Linked DNA regions of Homo sapiens: all the other regions are linked to region 5. The links are contacts of gene promoters, found by promoter capture Hi-C in human tissues and cell types (Jung and others, 2019). All regions are on one chromosome and are shown on one strand. The core of a region is centred on a gene start or on the middle of the fragment in contact, and the rest is flanking DNA. Distances in the headings are between cores, read along the strand shown. Region 1 holds the start of NFIC (nuclear factor I C). Region 2 holds the start of LOC105372244 (a long non-coding RNA gene). Region 3 overlaps CELF5 (CUGBP Elav-like family member 5). Region 4 overlaps CELF5 (CUGBP Elav-like family member 5). Region 5 holds the start of ZNF77 (zinc finger protein 77). Region 6 overlaps GNG7 (G protein subunit gamma 7). Region 7 holds the start of LMNB2 (lamin B2).

Evidence for each region. The method cuts DNA at HindIII sites, captures the fragments that hold promoters and counts their contacts. A contact is called where the count stands out against the background at its distance.
Region 1: the fragment with the promoter of NFIC here is called in contact with the fragment with the promoter of ZNF77 in region 5 in 3 of the 25 tissues and cell types used here (aorta, dorsolateral prefrontal cortex and lymphoblastoid cells).
Region 2: a contact is called between a fragment that was not itself captured here and the fragment with the promoter of ZNF77 in region 5, in 2 of the 25 tissues and cell types used here (H1 embryonic stem cells and dorsolateral prefrontal cortex).
Region 3: a fragment that was not itself captured here is called in contact with the fragment with the promoter of ZNF77 in region 5 in 1 of the 25 tissues and cell types used here (mesenchymal stem cells).
Region 4: a contact is called between a fragment that was not itself captured here and the fragment with the promoter of ZNF77 in region 5, in 2 of the 25 tissues and cell types used here (dorsolateral prefrontal cortex and lymphoblastoid cells).
Region 6: a contact is called between a fragment that was not itself captured here and the fragment with the promoter of ZNF77 in region 5, in 1 of the 25 tissues and cell types used here (adrenal gland).
Region 7: a contact is called between the fragment with the promoter of LMNB2 here and the fragment with the promoter of ZNF77 in region 5, in 2 of the 25 tissues and cell types used here (dorsolateral prefrontal cortex and spleen).

The regions. Positions count from the first base shown.
Region 1 is chr19:3,365,192-3,367,891 of GRCh38, reverse strand. NFIC (nuclear factor I C) reads right to left here and starts at 1,309. Exons shown (of 11, transcript NM_001245002.2): 1 at 1,226-1,309. The coding sequence starts at 1,255. RefSeq lists silencers at 301-700, 991-1,140, 1,591-1,680. The HindIII fragment of the contact is 27,364 bases long and covers 1-2,700 here.
Region 2 is chr19:3,305,635-3,308,334 of GRCh38, reverse strand. LOC105372244 (a long non-coding RNA gene) reads left to right here and starts at 1,433. Exons shown (of 3, transcript NR_187753.1): 1 at 1,433-1,486. The HindIII fragment of the contact is 7,399 bases long and covers 1-2,700 here.
Region 3 is chr19:3,239,742-3,242,441 of GRCh38, reverse strand. All of the region lies in intron 1 of CELF5 (CUGBP Elav-like family member 5), which reads right to left. Among named protein-coding and RNA genes, the nearest start is that of CELF5, 16 kb to the right of the region's middle. The HindIII fragment of the contact is 4,011 bases long and covers 1-2,700 here.
Region 4 is chr19:3,275,637-3,278,336 of GRCh38, reverse strand. CELF5 (CUGBP Elav-like family member 5) reads right to left here. Exons shown (of 13, transcript NM_021938.4): 4 at 2,353-2,481; 5 at 227-306. Among named protein-coding and RNA genes, the nearest start is that of CELF5, 52 kb to the right of the region's middle. RefSeq lists silencers at 2,035-2,334, 2,565-2,694. The HindIII fragment of the contact is 8,579 bases long and covers 1-2,700 here.
Region 5 is chr19:2,943,623-2,946,322 of GRCh38, reverse strand. ZNF77 (zinc finger protein 77) reads left to right here and starts at 1,352. Exons shown (of 4, transcript NM_021217.3): 1 at 1,352-1,485. The coding sequence starts at 1,483. RefSeq lists an enhancer at 957-1,116 and silencers at 1,187-1,436, 1,577-1,656. The HindIII fragment of the contact is 6,632 bases long and covers 1-2,700 here.
Region 6 is chr19:2,614,269-2,616,968 of GRCh38, reverse strand. All of the region lies in intron 2 of GNG7 (G protein subunit gamma 7), which reads left to right. Among named protein-coding and RNA genes, the nearest start is that of MIR7850, 15 kb to the left of the region's middle. The HindIII fragment of the contact is 8,165 bases long and covers 1-2,700 here.
Region 7 is chr19:2,455,705-2,458,404 of GRCh38, reverse strand. LMNB2 (lamin B2) reads left to right here and starts at 1,446. Exons shown (of 12, transcript NM_032737.4): 1 at 1,446-1,735. The coding sequence starts at 1,472. RefSeq lists silencers at 1,348-1,527, 1,648-1,897, 1,958-2,047, 2,278-2,457. The HindIII fragment of the contact is 70,551 bases long and covers 1-2,700 here.

The sequences.
Region 1 (2,700 bases), core at 60-2,559, 420 kb before region 5:
CCTCACTGCACCATGCCCTGGAGCGGAAGCCGGGGACTCATATACTCCCCACACAGTGCTTCTTAAGACGGGCCTGGCCCTCGCTGGAATCGCACCCCCCACGTGCCGGGACTTTACAGTTTGCCCGCCATACTGTCCCCTCTCCAGAACCGGCCTTAGCCGCACCTCACTTCAGGGGAAACTGAGGCCAGAACCTCTCCAGCCTAAAGACACACTGCGTAAGGAGGAAAGCAGCGGTCTAGAAAACGGAACTTGCAGACCTCGGGGTCCCCGGGAGCCTGGGCTGGAAGGAGTCCCCGGGGGGAGCCGCCCCCTCCCCACACACCCCCTCGGCCATTGCACAAGGCTCGGCCCCGGGGCAGTCTGGGAGTGCGGCCAGGGGTGAGAGGCTACGGGAGGGGGAGGGGGAGGGGGAGGGGACGGGGCAGGTGCCGGGCTGGCGAGGGCGTCCGCAGCGCCGCAGTGCCCGGGCCAGACCCGGAGCGCCGGGCCTCCCGCTCCTCCCGGCGGCGGCTCCAGAATCCAGAATCCAGAATCCAGAATCGATGCAGCGAAAATACCGGGACGGTGCTGGGGGGCTTGCAAAGGAGGGGGGACCCAGCCGGGCCGCCGGAGCACCCTTCCCCCTCCTGGGCCTCCAACTTCTCCTGCCCCCTCCCCCTCCATGCACACGTGGGCCAATAACGAGGGAAAGGCGACCGAGGGCCAGGGCGGCCCGCACAACCTTGGTGGGGGGACACGGGGAAAACACATGAGAGGTCCCTTTCTCTCCAGCTGGGGAGACCCAGGGTCCAATCACGACCCCCTAGATTCCTCTCAGAGGCAGGCGGGGGGCTTCCCGCAGAGCCCTTGCTGGAGGGGGGCCAGCCCCCACCCCGACCTTTCCGAGTGTCGGGGCGGGGGTGCGGAGTGCGTCGGTGTGTGGGGGGGGGACGCAAATCTGCAGACCAAGCCCCACATCCGGGAGAGGTCCCGAGAGTCGGGGTTGGGGGTGCTGGGCGGGAGTCCCGCGTAGGGGGTCCGCGGTAGGTAAGGGTGTGGGGGGGGTACCCCAGCCTGACCCATCCCCCCACCGGACCCCAGCCCTCGGCGCGGGGGGCATCCCGGGCAGGGATGGCGGGAGGGACGCGCGCCTTTTTCGTCCCGCCTCCTCCTGCTTCAAAACTCCGGGGCTGGGATGCGGGGGGCGCGGGGGCGCCGGCGGGGGGCCGGGCGAGGACCGTACCTGGGTGAGGCAGAGCGGGGACGAATACATCCCGGGCGCGGCGGGAGGCGCAGGGCCGGCCGGAGCGGGCGCGCTGAACTTACTGAGTCATTTTTCCAAACCACCCCCCCGCCCCCCCCAACCCCCCCCCCCGCCCCGCGGCCGGCGCGCTCTCCTCGCCGCCTCCTCCCTCGGTCTCCCTCCTCCTCCCTCCTGCTCTCCCTCTCTCGCGCCGCCCGCCTCGCTCTCTGTCCCTCTCTCCCTCCGTCTCTCTCTTCCTCTCTCCCCCGTCTCTGTCTCTCTGTCTCTCTCTCTACCCTCTGACACCCTCCCCCTCCCACCCCGAACCTCCCACTTCTCAACACCCAACTTTCAAAGAAACGAGGGAAAAAAGGGCGCGAGCGAGAAAGGAGAGCCTCCCCCGACGTCTCAGGACCCCCCCGCTCCTCCCGTATTTACGCAATGCCCCAGGGCACTAGACCAGGACCCCAGGACTGCAGGGCGACCCCAATTCGGATCAAGCGGAGAGGGGGGACAGGGTTGTTTCTGGACATTGAGGGGCCAGGGGTGGATTTTTAAGGCCCCCCCTCCCCACCCCCCCATCACCCCCGAGCTGGCCGGGAAGTTGGAGGAAAGAGCCAGGGGGGAGGGAAGGAATGAAGAAGTGACGTGCGCAGAGGCCGGCCAGCGCGCCTCTTTCCCCTTAAAGATGTACGACCCTGGGTGCACGGTGAGCTGGTCCCACAGCACCCTGGCTCCCTTCTCCCCCCAGAGCCAGGCAGGGGCTGCGGGTCCCCAGCTAGAGGGGCTTGTGTGCAGCTGTCCCTTCCTTGGCCAGAAGGGCCCAGGCTAACACGGGAGGCTCCAGAATTTGCTCTCTTCACCCAGCACCCAAGGGGCAGGGGAGGGGTGGCCTCGCCTGTGTGTCTCTCCAGCACCCCAGGAGGACGGTGTCCAGGCGGGATCTCCAGCTGGCCAGATAAACCCTTGCAGCCTCCCCCTGGGTATCCAATAATTTCCACCTGCCTCAGGGGTGTGCCCTTTTCACAGATCTCAAGACTGAGGTATGGCAAGTGTGGCTTGGAGCCAGGCCATCTGGACCTGGAGCCCACATTCTGTTCTCCTTCTAGACGTAACAGGGCAGAGACCTGGCCTGCCTCCGTCTGAGCCCCCAGGGCATCTGATGACAGGGCCCCAACCCTCCCCCGGTTCACTCCCTGGATCCTCCCAGGCTAGCTCAGAGGCTGCTGTGTCTCTCATTCCCATCCCAAGGGTTCTCCCCTATAAAGTGGCTTAAAGATGCCCATCCTGTGGGATTGCTGGGGATAAGGACAATGACCTTAGCAGAGCCTTGACCTTGGGTCAAATGTTCACTAAAGACACATTCTTAGAAAGCTTGGCCATTTCACCTCATCTCTCTGAGCTTCCCAAGGACAAATGATACCCTCTCACCAAGCTGGGGCAGGTGCCCCAGGCCCAGGGGCGCAGAAGATACC
Region 2 (2,700 bases), core at 59-2,558, 360 kb before region 5:
GGGACAGGCCCTAACTCGGGTGCTCACAGCCCCCCTCTGGTGGCTGCTGCAGGGAGGACAGACTGTGTGGCAGAGGGTGGAGCCTAGGACCAAGGCAGAGGCAACTGCGCCAGGTCCAGGTGGGCAACGATGGGGCTGGACCCAGGCAGAGGAACAGGAAGAAGTGAGCGTTTGAGGATGGAATAGTGAGGGCAGGGGCGACAGGACCTGCTGATAGATTGGAGTTGAGCAAGAAACAAAAGATCCAGGATAGCGTTGATATTCGGCTCCAGCACCCGGAAGAATGGAACTGCCGGGCCGGGCGCGGTGGCTCACGCCTATAATCCCAGCACTTTGGGCGGCCGAGGCAGGCGGATCACGAGGTCAGGAGATCGAGACCATCCTGGCTAACACGGTGAAACCCCGTCTCTACTAAAAATACAAAAAATTAGCCAGGCGTGGTGGCAGGCACCTGTAGTCCCAGCTACTCGGGAGGCTGAGGCAGGAGAATGGTGTGAACCCGGGAGGCGGAGCTTGCAGTGAGCCGAGATCGCGCCACTGCACTCTAGCCTGGGCGACAGAGCGAGACTCCGTCTCAAAAAAAAAAAAAAAAAGAATGGAACTGCCATCAGCTGAGATGCAGACGACGAGGGAGGAGCAGGATTGGGGACCAAGGACAGAGTGTTGTCCTGACTAGCAACCCCTTAGCTGTCAGAGATTAGGGCTGAGTTCATTTGAGGCTTTGATGGAGGACAGACAGGCAGAGAAAGCTCAGACCCTTGTCCCCAGTCATCCTGCATGGGAGCCCCTGCGACCAGAGCCGGGAGCTGTCCGCGACCCCCGGTGCTGAAGCTCCCATTCTAAGCAGGAACTCCGGAGCCCCCGCTGGAGTAAAGTGTCTGACATGTAGTGAACGCTCAAAACGTATCCCTGAATTTCACCCAAGGTGGCAAAGCGATTTCAGCGTCATCGTACTGCGCTGGTTTCTATGTCCCGCACGCCCCAACCTGTACTTTACGGATATGCAAACTGAGACCATGAGAGGTTGCTGCACCTTTAAAAATCACGCAATGCATCACTTTATTATTATTATTATTTTTTTTGAGACGGAGTCTGGCTCTGTGGCCCAGGCTGGAGTGCAGTGGCACGATCTCCACTCACTGCCACCTCCGCCTTCTGGATTCAAGCGATCCTCCTGCCTCAGCCTCCTGAGTAGTTGGGATTACAGGCACTCGCCACCACACCCGGCTAATTTTTGTATTTTTAGTAGAGACGGGGTTTCACCATATTGGCCAGGCTGATCTTGAACTCCTGACCTCGGGTGATCTGCCCTCCGCGGCTTCCCAAAGTGCTGGGATTACAGGCATGAGCCACGGCGCCCGGCTACGTAATGCATCACTCTTGACGTCACAATCAGCTAGGCTCTGAAGACAAATCCGAGTTCAGGCTGTGGATTGGCTGATCCCTCATGAATATGTAGATTACTCTCACCCTTCACCTCGCTCTGGTAGGTTCAGAAAAGTGAGGGGGTGGAGAGGAGGCGGGGCTGGGGGCGGGGCTGGAAACTGTTCCTGTGAGGGTTGGGGCAAGTAGTGGGGCGGGGCCAGGGACTATGGACGTGGTCAGAATTTTTGTACATTTCGTTCCCTGCCTTCTCCCCAGTACCTTTCTACAACAGCTCCTAGTACCCAGTAGGTGCTTCATAAATGTTTATTGACTCTGGATTCCAGTAGGAGTGATGCCTGAGAGTTCACTTTTCTGACCGGGGAGAAGGTCCTATTTTGCCTATAATGTGATAGTATCATTGGTATCATTCATCTTGATCTGCCCAGTTCTGGATGTTTGCATAATAACCTGAGCCCAGGCCGGGCGTGGTGGCTCACGCCTGTAATCCCAGCACTTTGGGAGGCCGAGGCGGTTGGATCAGGAAGGCCGAGGCGGGCGGATCAAGAGGTCAGGGATTCGAGACCAGCCTGACCAATATGGTGAAACCCTGTCTCTATTAAAAATACAAAAATTAGCCGGGTGTGGTGGCGCGCACCTGTAATCCCAGCTACTCGGGAGGCTGAGGCAGCAGAATCTCTTGAACCTGGGAGGCGGAGGTTGCAGTGAACTGAGATCGCGCCACTGCACTCCAGCCTGGGTGACAGAGTGAGACTCCGTCTCAAACAACCAACCAAAAATTATGTGTATACACACACACACACACATACACACGTATATATACATATATACACACATATACATTATATGTATATACACACATATGTATGTGTATATATATATATACACACACACACACACACACACATATATATATATATATCTCATGAGCCCCGTCTTACAGATGAGGAAACTGAAGCTTGGAGAGAGAATGCAAGGCTTAAGGGCATGCATGTCTTAAGTCAATCAGCAAATATTGAGGACCCAGAGGTGAGGAACTCCAGCTCCCTTGGTCGGGACTCAGCTCCTATTTGGCCCTCAGTTTTACCCCCACACATCCTGCTTCAGTCCTCTGTGTGGTTTCGAGGCCACAGTTGAGGGGCTCTCTGTTTTCTAACTCGGACCTAGGTAATTCCTACTTTTTTTTTTTTTTTTTTTTTTTTTTTTTAGACGGCGTTTCACTCTTGTCGCCCAGGCTGGAGTGCAGTGGCGCAATCTCGGCTCACCGCAACCTCCGCCTCCCAGGTTCAAGCGATTCTCCGGCCTCAGCCTCCTTAG
Region 3 (2,700 bases), core at 3-2,502, 300 kb before region 5:
ACCTCAGCCTCCCAAAGTACTGGGATTACAGGCATGAGTCACTGCACCCAGCCAATTTTTTGTATTTTTTAGTAGAGACGGGGTCTCACCATGTTGGCCGGGCTAGTCTTGAACTCCTGACCTCAAGTAATCTGCCCGCCTCAGCCTCCCAAAGCACTGGGATTACAGGTGCGAGCCATCGTGCCCGGCCAAATGTCGAGGGCTTAAATCTAGGTAGTCTAGCTCTGCAGACCATGCACTAACAGCTGAGATCCACTGCCTGGCTTTCGCATCTTTTCCAAAATTCTCCCCCAAGGAATATGAGGAAGAACACAGCCTCTTGCCGTACCTGCTTCCCTAGAAATAACCTTAAAATAGTGCCACCTTGGGCCGGGCATGGTGGTTCATGCCTGTAATCCTAGCATTTTGCGAGGCCAAGGCAGGTGGATAACCTGAGGTCAGGAGTTTGAGACCAGCCTGCCCAACACGGTGAAACCCCATCTCTACTAAAAACACAAAAATTAGCTGGGCGTGGCGGCGCGCGCCTCTGGTCCCAGCTACACGGGAGGTTGAGGCAGGAGAATTGCTCGAACCCGGGAGATAAGGTTGCAGTGAGCCGAGGTCGCGCCACTGCACTCCAGCCTGGGCAAGAGGGAGACTCTGTCTCAAACAAACACACAACAACAACAAACTAGTGCCACCTTTGTCAGAAACACGGGGCTGGATCAAATGCTGAGGGCCCTGTGGATCCCATTTCAACTGTGAGAGCTCTGGTTGGTTGCATCCTAGACCCAGAGGGATCCCCTGAAGGAAGCCTCAGCCTGAGCCACAGCTTATCCCCCACCCACGCCAGGTGAGCCTCTCACCGTGTCCCAGCCCCAGCCACTCCCACCCCACACACCTGCCCCAGATGGCAAGGGCACCAGAGGCAGGTGTGCAGCCTTGCTGCACACCTGGAGAGCCTTGGGGTTCTGGAGGGGGTAGACAGGGAAGTCCCACCTGGGATCAATGGTTCAGAATGCTCAGTGATTGGCAATCTGCACCCACCCTATTTTCAAAGCCTGGACAAGAACTGATCTTTAGGCCGGGCGCGGTGGCTCACACCTGTAATCCCAGCACTTTGGGAGGCAGAGGCGGGTGGATCACAAGGTCAGGAGATAGAGACTATGCTGGCCAACATGGTGAAACCCCATCTCTAGTAAAAATACAAAAAAAAAAAATTAGCTGGGCGCGGTGGCTTGTGCGTGGTGGTTCGTGCCTGTAATCCCAGCTACTTGGGAGCCTGAGGCAGAAGAACTGCTTGAACCAGGGAGTTGGTGGGTGCAGTGAGCCAAGATGGTGCCACTGCGCTCCAGCCTGGTGACAGAGCAAGACTCCGCCTCAAAAAAAAAAAAAAAGAACTGATCTTCAAGTTCATAGACAATGCACTGCACACAAATCTCTCGAGACCCAAGGGTACCAAGGGTACATTGGGGATCAAGGTGGGGGATCCTTGGGGAACATGAGATCTGCTCAATGGATAAGTTTCTCCAGCCCGGGCAGCTGGGGACCTCAGCCCAAAAGGACACTCCAGTCTCCAGCCCAGGAAAATGCTCTTTTTTGGGAAGTGATTCTCTGTGATCCTCCTGCTAGGAGGAGGCAGAGCCTGACACTCCTGTCCCCTCCACACCCTGTGTGGTCAGCCCGGGCCAAGAGAAAGGCAGGGCTGGGGACGCTCTGAAGGCAACCTGGTTCTGCTTGGAGACGGCTTCCTGAAGGATGATTCTTGGAGCTGGGGCCATAGAACAAGAGCCTGCCTGGTGTGTGGAACATAGGCTTTCAGAAGTGTGTGGTAGGGCCGGGCGCAGTGGCTCACGTCTGTAATCCCAGCACTCTGGGAGGCCGAGGCAGGTGGCTCACCTAAGGTCAGGAGTTCAAGACCAGCCTGGCCAACACGGTGAAACCCCCTCTCTACTAAAAATACAAAAACTAGCTGGGTGTGGTGGTTCATGCTTGTAGTCCCAGCTACGTAGGAGGCTGAGGCACAAGAATGACTCTTGAACCCGGGAGGCAGAGGTTGCAGTGAGTTGAGATTATGCCACTGCATTCCAGCCTGGATGACAGAGTGAGACCCCATCTCAAAAAAAAAGAAAGAAAGAAAAAGAAGGGCCAGGTGCAGTGGCTCATGCCTGTAATACCAGCACTTTGGGAGGCAGAGGCAGGCGGATCATTTGAGGTAAGGAGTTCAAGACCAGTCTGGCCAACATGATGAAACCCCGTCTCTACTAAAAATACAAAAATTGGCTAGGTGTGGTGGCGTGCACCTATAATTCCAGCTACTCAGCTACTCAGGAGGCTGAGGCAGGAGAATCACTTGAACTTGGGAGGTAAAGTTTGCAGTGAGCCGAGATCTCGCCACTGCGCTCCAGCCTGAGCAACAGAGCAAAACTCTTGCCTCAAAAAAAAAAAAAAAAGTGTGTTGCAGGAGATGGGGGATGCCATTGGAGGGGACAGATGAGGGTGAAACAGGCAAAGAACTGCTGGACTGATGTCAAGGGCAGTGGGGAGCCATGGAAGGTGTTTGAGCAGGGGTTGGGCATAGTCAGAGGTGTGTGCGGGAAAGAGCCTCCTGGGGCCAGCACGAAGAAGGGACTGGAGTGCAGGACAGAAGACTGGAGGCCAGTGAGGGGGCAGAGTCAAGGTCAGTATGGGAGAAGGTGAAGACTACCCCAGAGGGCCATG
Region 4 (2,700 bases), core at 177-2,676, 330 kb before region 5:
CACTTCGCTTGCCTACTCACCTCCACATCTGCACACACTCACACGTGTATACCCACTCCAGGGACCACAGCCAGGGACTGCGCCTCTTTCTCCACCTGTGCCCCCTCTGAAGGACAGCCAGGGGCTACCGGATGACAGCGACGGTAGGAATATGGCCTGTTTCATCCCTGTCCCCCTCACCCCTTTCCCACCCCCACCCCCACGGCCAAGGGCAGCTCCAACTCACCGGCATGGTCTGGCTCCCATGCAAGGCGTGGATGGCCGCCTGCGCCTCCGTGTGGGAGGAGAACTTCACGAAAGCACAGCCTGCTCCAAGAGAAGAAGAAGAGGTAGAGGGTGATGGGGTCACAGGACTGGCTGAGCGGGGGCCACAGGAGAGGGGACACAGAGACCTACATGGCCAGTGTCAGACACATGCAGCCAGAGAGAACTGATAACAGAAAGACAGCCAGCCGTTTGCTCAGACGGACAGCTGGACAATCAGCCAGATCAAGGGTCAGAATGGAGGAGAATCACACAGACAGACAGCCACAGTTAGACAAAGACCTGGTCACCCACACAGCCAGCCAGGCTAATGCAGACAGACAGCCACACACACAGAGACCACCAGACACAGGTGAATGGAAACACAGTCCCACCGACAAAGTCCATAGAACATACAGAGGCCACTGCACCTGGCTCCAGACTGGTAGAGTACTATGGAAGGGCCAGCCATATTGTGGAGGGAGGGGGTGGAATGTTCTGGAATTACATAGTGGTGATGGTTGCACGGTTTTATGAATAGAAAAAAAAAGCACTTCATTGTACATTTTTAAAGGGTGAATTTGGTAGGATGTGGAAGACATCTCAATTTTTTTCTTTTTTTGAGTCAGAGTCTTGCTCCGTCACCCAGGCTAGAGTGCAGTGGCGTGATCTCGGCTCACTGCAACATCTGCCTCCCGGGTTCAAGCAATGCTCTTCCTCAACCTCCCGAGTAGTTGGGATTACAGGCGCCTGCCACCACGCCCAGCTAATTTTTGTATTTTTTGTAGAGACGGGTTTCACCATCTTGGCCAGGCTGGTCTTGAACTCCTGATCTCGTGATCCACCTGCCTCAGCCTCCCAAAGTGCTGGGATTACAGGCGTGAGCCACCACGCCCAGCCCTCAATTTTAAAAAGGAAGAACCAGGTAATGGTCTGAAACCGTCAGACACATTCAGTTCTAGTAAGGTAAGAAAGACCAGAGTGGAGTCGGTCCCACATGATGAGCTCTGTGGACAGAGACCGCCAGACACCGTCATTTGGACTCTCAGGCAGGAAGATAGACAGACAGACACAACCAGAGACCACCAGTCAGTCATATGGACAAATCACATAGACAGAACCAGGAGGAAACAGTTTTACGAATAGTCAGGTGGAGGAATCTGAGACCACAGGGCACAGGTAACTCTGTCCGTGGAGAAGCCCCGCCCCTCCCCAGACCCCGCCCCATCACAAGCCACGCCCCTGCATCCCTACTCACAGGCAGCACCTGGAGAAGCCCCCCCGCCTCCCACCAGACACCGCCTCATCCCAAGGTACTGCCCCTGCATCCCCATCCATAAGCAGCCCCTGGAGAAGCCTTGCCCTTCCCCAAGGCCACGCCTCTGCATCTCCGCCCACCCCACCGCAGCCCCGCCCCTCTTCAGGGCCCGTCCCCACAGCCAGCATGCAGAGAGAGCATGCAGGTAGGATCAAGCGGGACCAGTCTCTGCTCCACCCAACCCCTGTGAACCAGCTTCTCCCAGCCAGCCCCAGCCTCCTATTGGCCTGGCCCCGCCCCACCTGGCCAGCCCCACCCCCTATATGCTCAGCCCCGACCCTTCCCAGGGCCTCTCCCCCTGGAGCCAGTCCCTCCTAACTCTACGTATTTCACCCCTCCCTGCAGTACCTCCCCTACCCAAGACCCCACCCTTGCAGCCTCACCCACAGACTTCAGCTCTGGAGAAGCCTCGGGCCTCTCCAGGGCTACATCCTCAGAGCCAGCTCCTCCCCACCCCTGCAGCCACACCTCTCCCCAAGGGCCCACCTTTGGAGAAGCCCCACCCCTCCCCAGGGCCCTGCCCCACAGGCCCCGCCCTCAGAGGCAGCTCCTCCCCACCCTGCAGCCCCATCCCCTCCCCAGGCCCCGCCCCTGCAATTCCGCCCCTCTCCAAGGCCCCGCCCCTGCAGCCTCACCCACAGACTCCACCCCTGGAGAAGCCCCGCCCCTCCCCAGGGTCCCACCCCAGAGCCAGCTCCTCCCCATGCTGCAGGCCCCACCCTCCCCACAGGCCCCGCCCCCAGAGCTAGCCCGGCCCCTCTCGCAGTCCCGCCCCGGCCCCCGCCAGTCACCTTTGCTGCTGCCGTCAGGCCCCCGGAGCACGGTGCACTCGTCAATGACCCCGAAGGGCTGGAACAGCCGCAGCACGTCCTCCTCCGACTGCTGCTTGTTCAGCATCCCCACGAACAGCTTCCGGTCCCCTGTGGGCGGCGACACCCACCTCAGCCGAGTCCCCGGCCTCCGGGAGGGCCTCCGGGATTCCTCCCTCCCTCCAGCAGAGTGGAGGCGGCAGGGCAGGAAGACGCGGCGCCCGGGCCCTGCCGGCTCCGGTTCTGCGCGTGCGAGGGAGGACCCAGCCGCGCCCTTTCCCTGCCCCGGATCTCTCCACCCTCCCACGGGCCCTGCACGCTCCCATCTCC
Region 5 (2,700 bases), core at 103-2,602:
CTATGTGCTTATTCAGGGAGGTAAAGGAAGACAAAGGTTGTTTTTGGTTTTCATTTTTTTGAGACGGGGGTCTCTGTTGCCCAGGCTGGAGTACAATGGTGAGATCACAGCTCACTGCAGCCTCAATCCCCACGGGCTCGAGCGATCCTCCTGCTTCAGCCTATCAAGTCGTTGGGACCATAGGCGCACACTCCTTTATTCCCAGCTAATTTTTGTATTTTTTGTATATATGGGGTTTTGCCATGTTGCCCAGACTGGGACAAAGGTTTATAAAGGAAAAAAAAAATTTTAAATGAGGATTACATCATTTTTCAGAAATAATTATCCTTGTCTACAAAGATCAGTAACAAGGGTCACACCAGTCTGAGTGTCCCTGTAAAAGTATTTTTTGTTTAAGCCTGTGGTTTTTGTAGAGTCTTTTTCGTTATTAAGCATATAAATGTGAGACCTCTCTCTTCATGACCTTACGTGGTTCTGTTTGTGGGAGGGCTGCTTTTTTTTTTTTTGAGACTCAGTTTCGCTCTTGTTGCCCAGGCTGGAGTGCAGTGTCCTGATCTTGGCTCACTGCAATCTCCGCCTCCTGGGTTCAAGCGATTCTCCTGCCTCAGCCTCCGGAGTAGCTGGGATTACAGGCGCCCGCCACCGTGCCCAGCTAATTTTTGTATTTTTAGGAGAGAAGTGGTTTTCGCCATTTTGGTCAGGCTGGACTTGAACTCCTGACCTCTGATGATCCGCCGGTCTCCGCCTCTCACGGTGCTGGGATTACCGGCGTGAACCACCGCGCCCGGCCGAGAGTTTTAAGAACACAGGGAGCGCCTGGTGGGGTCCGGCCTCCTGGGGCCTCGTCGTCTGGTCTCCAGATCTCCAGGTCTCTGGACCCCAGGCGTCCGCGCCCACGCGGGACAGCACGGTGACGTCACGCACGCGGGTCCCGCCCCCACGCAGGACTCCGCCCCATGGGACTCCGTGCCCTTCCTCTCCTCCCCGCACGAGGGGCCGCTCCGAGGGGAAACTGAGTCTGGAGTTGCCGTGCAGTCAGGGAGGAGGACGCCGCGCCCTCCCTGGACTGGAGTGAGTTCTCCCAGATCCGCGGCTGCCCGGCTAGAGGGTCAGCCACGCGTGTTCTCGACGAGCCCGTCACTGAGGAGAGAATTATCCAATCAGGACAGGCAGGGGCGGGGCCTAGGGAACTGTCCAATCAGAGACGTTAATCCGAAGCGGAGCCCTGCCCAATCAAGGGCGCTAGGGGGACGGACTGGAGAATTCTCCAATCAGGGGTGCGGAGTCGACAGCACTGTCCAATCAGAGTCTCCACTTCCCGAGATCTGTCCAATCAGACCCCGAGGACGGTAAGCCGAGTTCCCCTCTGCCTTGCGCGCTTCCCCGCCTACCCCGAGCGGCTCAGGTGTCCTGTCGTGCTCACCTGCGCCGGTCGCTGGACCGCGGGGCGCTAACCCTGGAGAGCCCAGGAGCGGGCGGGACATGGTGAGTGCCGGGCGGGAGCCGAGCCCGGGCCCAGGGCGAGGTGGGGCGGCAGGAACCGGCTTCCGCCCGAGTTCGCAGCCGGAGAAAGCTGAGGGACGCGCGGGGCGGCGCACGACGAGCGCCTGGGCCCCGGGGACGTGGTCACAGCGGCCGAGGGGTAGGGCTGGGGGCAGTCTGGGGTGACAGCAAAAGCGGTCAGGGGCTCGAGGGGTAGTTTCTGGGGACAGTACAGGTCAGGAGTTTGGGGAGAGCTTGTGGGGACAGCAGAGGTGGTCAGGGGCTTGAGGCAATTTAAGTGGACAGTAGAGGTTTAAGGGGCACAGGGGCAGTTTGCGGGAACAGACACGGTCAGGGGCTCGGCGGCAGTTTGGGGGTTCAGTGGAAGGGAGTCAGGCTCAAGGGCAGATTAGGGGGCCAATAGCAGCGGTCAGGAACTCGGGGACAGTTTGAGGGGGCCGTAGAGGCGGTCATGGGTTTGAAGGGGCAGTTTTGGGGGACAGGTGATCAGGGGCTCGAAGGCAGTTTAGGGGGACAGTAGCTGCAGTCGGGAGTTTGGGGGCAGCTCGAGGGGACAGCAGAAGCAGTCAGGGGCTCAGGGGCACTTTAAGGGGGGCAGTAGAGGCGATCAGGGGCTTGAGGGAAGTTTGGGGGGACAGTAAAGGGAGTCGGGCTCGAGGGATGTGTTGGGGGACAGTAGAGGCAGTCAGGGGATCGGGGAGAGTGGGAGGAGAGGGCAGGAGCCGTCAGGGGCTTGGTGGTCAGTTTGGGAAGGTCTGCCAAGGAGGAGGTGGTGCCCTGTCCTGGAGCCTGTCAAATAATAAAATCCTGGGCCGGGCGCGGTGGCTCACGCCTGTAATCCCAGCACTTTGGGAGGCCGAGGCGGGCGGATCACCTGAGGTCAGGAGTTCCAGACCAGCCTGGACAACATGGCGAAATCCCGTCTCTACTAAAAATACAAAAATTAGCCCGGCGTGGTGGCGGGCGCCTGCAATCCCAGCTACCAGGGAGGCTGAGACAGGAGAATGGCGTGAACCTGGGAGGTGGAGCTTGCAGTGAGCCGACATGGCGCCGCTGCACTCCAGCCTGGCGACAGAGAAAGACTCCGTCTCAAAAACAAAAACCAAAAAAAAAAAAAAAAAAAAAAATCCTGGCTAGAGAAGGAGAGAGAAAAATAGGGATAAGCCCCAGCCTCCGAAACCTGCCAGGTCTCAAAAT
Region 6 (2,700 bases), core at 102-2,601, 330 kb after region 5:
TCACAGTCACCTGCATGACCAGGGAGGCGGAGCTGCACTTATCCCGTGACCCCAGATGAGGAAACAGTCAGAGGAAGAGGCGGGCAGAACCCGGGCCCCACTGCTCTTGGCAGCTCTTGGAAACATCCTCCCCTAGGGCCCTGGTCACCAGCCTTGCCCAAGAACCCACCAGCTATATTTGTCTGGTTTTTTTTTTTGAGATGGGGTTTTGCTCAGGCTGGAGTGCGATGGCGTGATCTCGGCTCACTGCAACCTGCAACCTCTGCCTCCCGGGTTCAAGCAATTCTGCCTCAGCCTCCTGAGTAGCTGGGATTACAGGCACCCGCCACCATGCCCGGCTAATTTTGTATTTTTAGGAGAGACGGGGTTTCTCCCTGTTGGTCAGGCTGGTCTCAAACTCCTGACCTGAGGTGATCCGCTCGCTTTGGCCTCCCAAAGTGCTGGGATTATAGGCATGAGCCACCACACCCAGCCTTTCTTTGTTTGTTTTTTAATAGAGATGGAGTCTCTAGCCTGGCTAACATGACAAAACCTCATCTCTACTAAAAATACAAAAATTAGCTGGGCACGGTGGCACACGCCTGTAATCCCAGCTACTCGGGAGGCTGAGGCAGGAGAATCGCTGGAACACGGGAGGCAGAGGTTGCAATGAGTCGAGATCGTGCCATTGCACTCCAGCCTGGGCAGCAGAGCGAGACTCCGGCTCAAAATAATAATAATAAATTAGAGATGGGGTCTCACTATTTTGCCCAGGCTGGTTTTGAACTCCTGAGCTCAAGGGATCCTCTCGCCTCAGCCTCCCAAAGCACTGGGATCACAGGTGTGAGGTGCCATGCCTGGCCCACACCAGCTGTGTTTAATCAATGCTGGGCAGCCCTGCAGCTTGGTGACATCAGTGGGCCACTGGCTACTGGGTGTTTTTTCCATCCTGCCCTGTTCCCTGCTGGCACCAGGGGAAAAAGGCCCATACAGGAGTCTGTTCCAGGTCACCAGATCCTGGGGTGGCCCGTAAGGATTTGAAGGGGACAGGAGGCGCCCCTTTGCCGAGGCCCTTCACTGTGTCAGGCACATTGCTGGCTGCCGTGGGTGCACAATCTTAGGGAACCCTCCTGCCTCCTCCGCCTTGCTGCTTCCTTGCAAAGAAAATTTCCCACTGCAGAGGGCAGCTTAATTGCTCAGCAGTGGCTCTTCAGAATCTCACAGATGGGCCAGGCGTGGTGGCTCATGCCTGTAATCCCAGCACTTTGGGAGGCCGAGGCGGGCAGATCATGAGGTCAGGACATCGAGACCATCCTGGCTAACATGGTGAAACCCCATGTCTACTAAAAATACAAAAAAATTAGCCAGGCGTGGTGGTGGGTGCCTGTAGTTCCAGCTACTCTGGAGGCTGAGGCAGGAGGATCACTTGAGCCCAGGAGGCTGAGGTTGCAGTGAGCTGTGACTGCACCACTGCACTCCAGCCTGGGCAACAGAGCAAGACCCTATCTCAAAAAAAAAAAAAAAAAAAAAAAAAACCGGAAAAGACAAAGAAAATAGGATGAGGTGGCACCAAGAGGACAGAGTCTGTGCCACGTGGTGTCCAGGAAGGTCTCTAAGGAGAGGACATCCTTGCCGACCCCTGCAGGATGGGGAGGAGCATTGAAGGCAGGAGGAAGGACATTCTGGAGGGCTCCCTGGAGGCGGAGGTCTGGGGGAGCCTGAATGGTGGGAACCTGGGAGGTGGAGTTTGCAGTGAGCCGAGATCGCGCCACTGCACTCCAGCCTGGGCGACAGAGCGAGACTCCGTCTCAAAAAAAAAAAAAAGAGTGTCACAGATGGCACCTTCAGACCAGACAGTGGCCGCCCAGTACCCCGAAAGTGGCCTAGAAAGCGGGGCTATTCCACACACCTTGCCCAGCCCAGCACTGAAGCCAGGGAAGGAGGGCTTGGGCAGGAGCCGCGGCACAAATCACAGCTGCAAGTTCTGGCTCTGCCAATGGCTACGGGGTGACCTTCAACAATCAGCTGCCTGCCTCCTGCCTCAGTGCCTTGTTTAAAAGCTGAGGAACGCCTTGGCATTGAGAATTGATGTGTGATGCAAGATGGGGCAGCCGCCTTGGAAACCAGTCTGGTGGTTCCTCAAAAGGCTGAACGCGGAGTCGCCACATGACCCAGCAATTCCGCTCCTAGTTATCTGCCCAGAGGAATTGGAAGCAGGTGTTCAAATAGAACCTTGCCACAAATGTTCATACAGTACGATTCACAATGGCTAAAAGGTGGAAATGACCCAAGTGTCCGTCCGTGGGTAAATAGATAAACAGCGTGGCCCTCCACACACTGGAACGAGACTCAGCCGTGAACGAGACTCTGACCCAGGCCACGTGCAGCCTGGATGCCCCTTGAGGATGTCACACTCAGTGAGAGATGCCAGATCCAAAAGGCCACACAGTGTGTCATCCTATTTCTATGAAATGTCCAGGACAGGCCAGTCTAGAGAGGCAGGAAGGGGATGTGTGGGTGCCAGGGGCTGGGGAGGGGGATGGGAAGTGACAGCTGATAGGGATGGGGTGTCTTTTTGGGGGGCTGAGAATGTTCTAGAGCTAGCTAGAGATGATGGCTGCACGAATGCCACTGGATGTCTGGAAAGGGAGCTTTTTTGTTGTGTGCATTTCACCACACATGTGCCTGAGACCCGACGTGCAGGGCCCCCCTGCGGGTACA
Region 7 (2,700 bases), core at 197-2,696, 490 kb after region 5:
TATGAAAAAAGTAACTTTGAAACAACCAATTGGTTTTTATTTCGTATTTTTATTTTTACTTTTTTTGAGACAAACTCTCACTCTGTCACCCAGGCTGGAATGCAGTGATGTGATCAGGGCTCACTGCAACCTTGACCTCTCTTGCTCAAACAATCCTGCCACCTTAGCCTCCCAAATACCTAGGACTATAGGCGCCCAGCTAATTTTTTTTTTTTTTTTTTTTTGAGGTGGAGTCTTACTCTGTTGCCTAGGCTGGAGTGCAGTGGTTCAATCTTGGCTCCCTGCAACCTCCGCCTCCCGGGTTAAAGCAATTCTCCTGCCTCAGCTTCCCGAGTAGCTGAGACTACAGGCATGTGCCACCATGCCTGGCTAATTTTTGTATTTTTAGTAGAGACGGGATTTCACCATATTGGTCAGGCTGGTCTCGAACTCCTGACCTCATGATCTGCCCGGCTTGGCCTCCTAAAGTGCTGGGAATACAGGTGTGAGCCACTGCACCTGGCTAATTTTTTTATTTTTATTTTTAGAAATGGGGTCTTGCTATGTTGCCCAGGCCAGTCTCAAACTCCTGGGCTCAGGCTATCCTCCCACCTCCGCCTCCCAAAGTGCTGGCATTACAGGCGTGAGCAAACCACTGTACCTGGCCTGGCTTTTATTTTAATTCTTATTTCTCCTTTCTTCAGCCTTTTCTGCCTGTAATGCAGAATGCCCATCCTCTCTGCTCAGCTCATTGGAGTGCCTATTTAATAGATTGAATGCTATCCAATTCATGAATTGCTAATAAGAGCCAATGAGATCATTAAACTCAATTTGTTGAAATTCATACTCCTTGACAGCCTCTTCTGGACATTTTATATCAGTGGCATTGTACACTATATGGCTTTTTTTTTTTTTTTTTTTTTTTTTTGAGACAAAGTTTCTCATTGTTGCCCAGGCTGGAGTGCAGTGCCGCGATCTTGGCTTACTGCAACCTCCACGTCCCAAGTTCAAGAGATTCTCCTGCCTCAGCCTCCCAAGTAGCTGGGATTACCGGCGCGCGCCTCCGTAGTAGAGATGGTGTGGGGGGGTCTCCCTATGTGGTCCAGGCTGATCTCGAAATTCTTTTCTCAAGTGATCCACCGGCCTTGGCCTCCCAAAGTGCTGGGATTACAGGCGTGAGCCACCACGCCCGGCCCTATATGGCCTTTTGTGTCTGGTTCTTTGAACACGTTTTGAGGTTCTCTAAGTGGGGAAACAGGTACTAGAAAGCAACCCAACGCTGTTTCCTCGTGGCGGAGCTGGGAGTTTGCAGCCAGGAAGTCTGTCTCTGGAGTCAGCGCCTCTGCGAAGCGAGAGCTGGACGGAGACTTCAACTTCCGGCGTGCCCCGCGCGCGCCCGGCGGTCGGACTACCAGTCCCAGGCTGCCCCGCCGCGGCGGGCGGCGGGCGCGGCGCGGCGCGGCGCCATCTTGCAGCCGGCGGCGCGGATTGAATGAGCCCGCCGAGCCCGGGCCGCCGTCGGGAGCAGCGCAGGCCGCGAGCCGCCGCCACCATGGCCACGCCGCTGCCCGGCCGCGCGGGCGGGCCCGCCACGCCGCTGTCGCCCACGCGCCTGTCGCGGCTGCAGGAGAAGGAGGAGCTGCGCGAGCTCAACGACCGCCTGGCGCACTACATCGACCGCGTCCGCGCGCTGGAGCTGGAGAACGACCGGCTCCTGCTCAAGATCTCAGAGAAGGAGGAGGTGACCACGCGCGAGGTGGGCGCCGGGGCTTAGGGGCCGGGCGGGGGTGCAGCCGGCAGGCCCCGCCCACCGCGGGGCGCGCGATCGCGGGGACCCTGGGCGGGGGTGCAGACGGGGACGGGCCCCGGCTTCGGGGGTTTCCGCGGGGTTTCGGGGGGCCCCTGAGTGAGGGGTGCAGCTCGGCCAGGTCCCTCCCACCGCGGGGTGGGCAATCGCTGGGACCCTGGGTGCAGACAGGGACGGGCCCGGGTCTCGAGGGTCTCCAGGGGGTTTCGAGGGGCCCCTGAGTGAGCGGTGCAGTTCGGCCAGGCCCCGCCCACCGCGGGGTGCGTGATCGCGGGGACCCTGGGCGGGGGTGCAGACGGGGACAGGCTCCGGCTCGGGGGTCTCCAGGAGGTTTGGGGGCTTCTGAGTGAGGGGTGCTGCTCGGCTAGGCCCAGCCCACTGCGGGGCTCCCAGTCGCGGGGAACCCTGAGCTGGGATGCAGACGGGGACAGTCCGGCCTCGGGGATCTCCGCCGCGTTTCGGAGAGTCCCTGAGTGAAAGGTGCTACTCGGCCAGGCCCCGCCCACCACGGGGCGCGCGATCGCGGGGGACTCTGAACGACTCCCGGCTTGGGGTCTCCAGGGGGTTTGCGGGGGGCTCCTGGATGAAGGGTGCAGGTCCTGGCCACCGCGGGGTGCGCGATCGCGGGGACCCTGGGCAGGGGTGCAGACCGGGAAGGGTCCCGGCTTGGGGGTCTCCAGGGGGTTTCAAGGGGTCCCTGAGTGAGGGGTGCAGCTCGGCCAGGCCCAGCCCACCGCGGAGTACGCGATCACGGGGGACCCTGAGCAGGGGTGGGGTCAGCCTGGCCTCGGGGATCTCCAGGGGGAGACCCTGAGTGAGGGGTGCCACCTGGGCAGGCCCTGCCCACCGCAGTTTCCGAGATCTTGGGGGACCCCTTGGGAGGGGTGCAGACCGGAGTGGCCCATTCTCTTGGG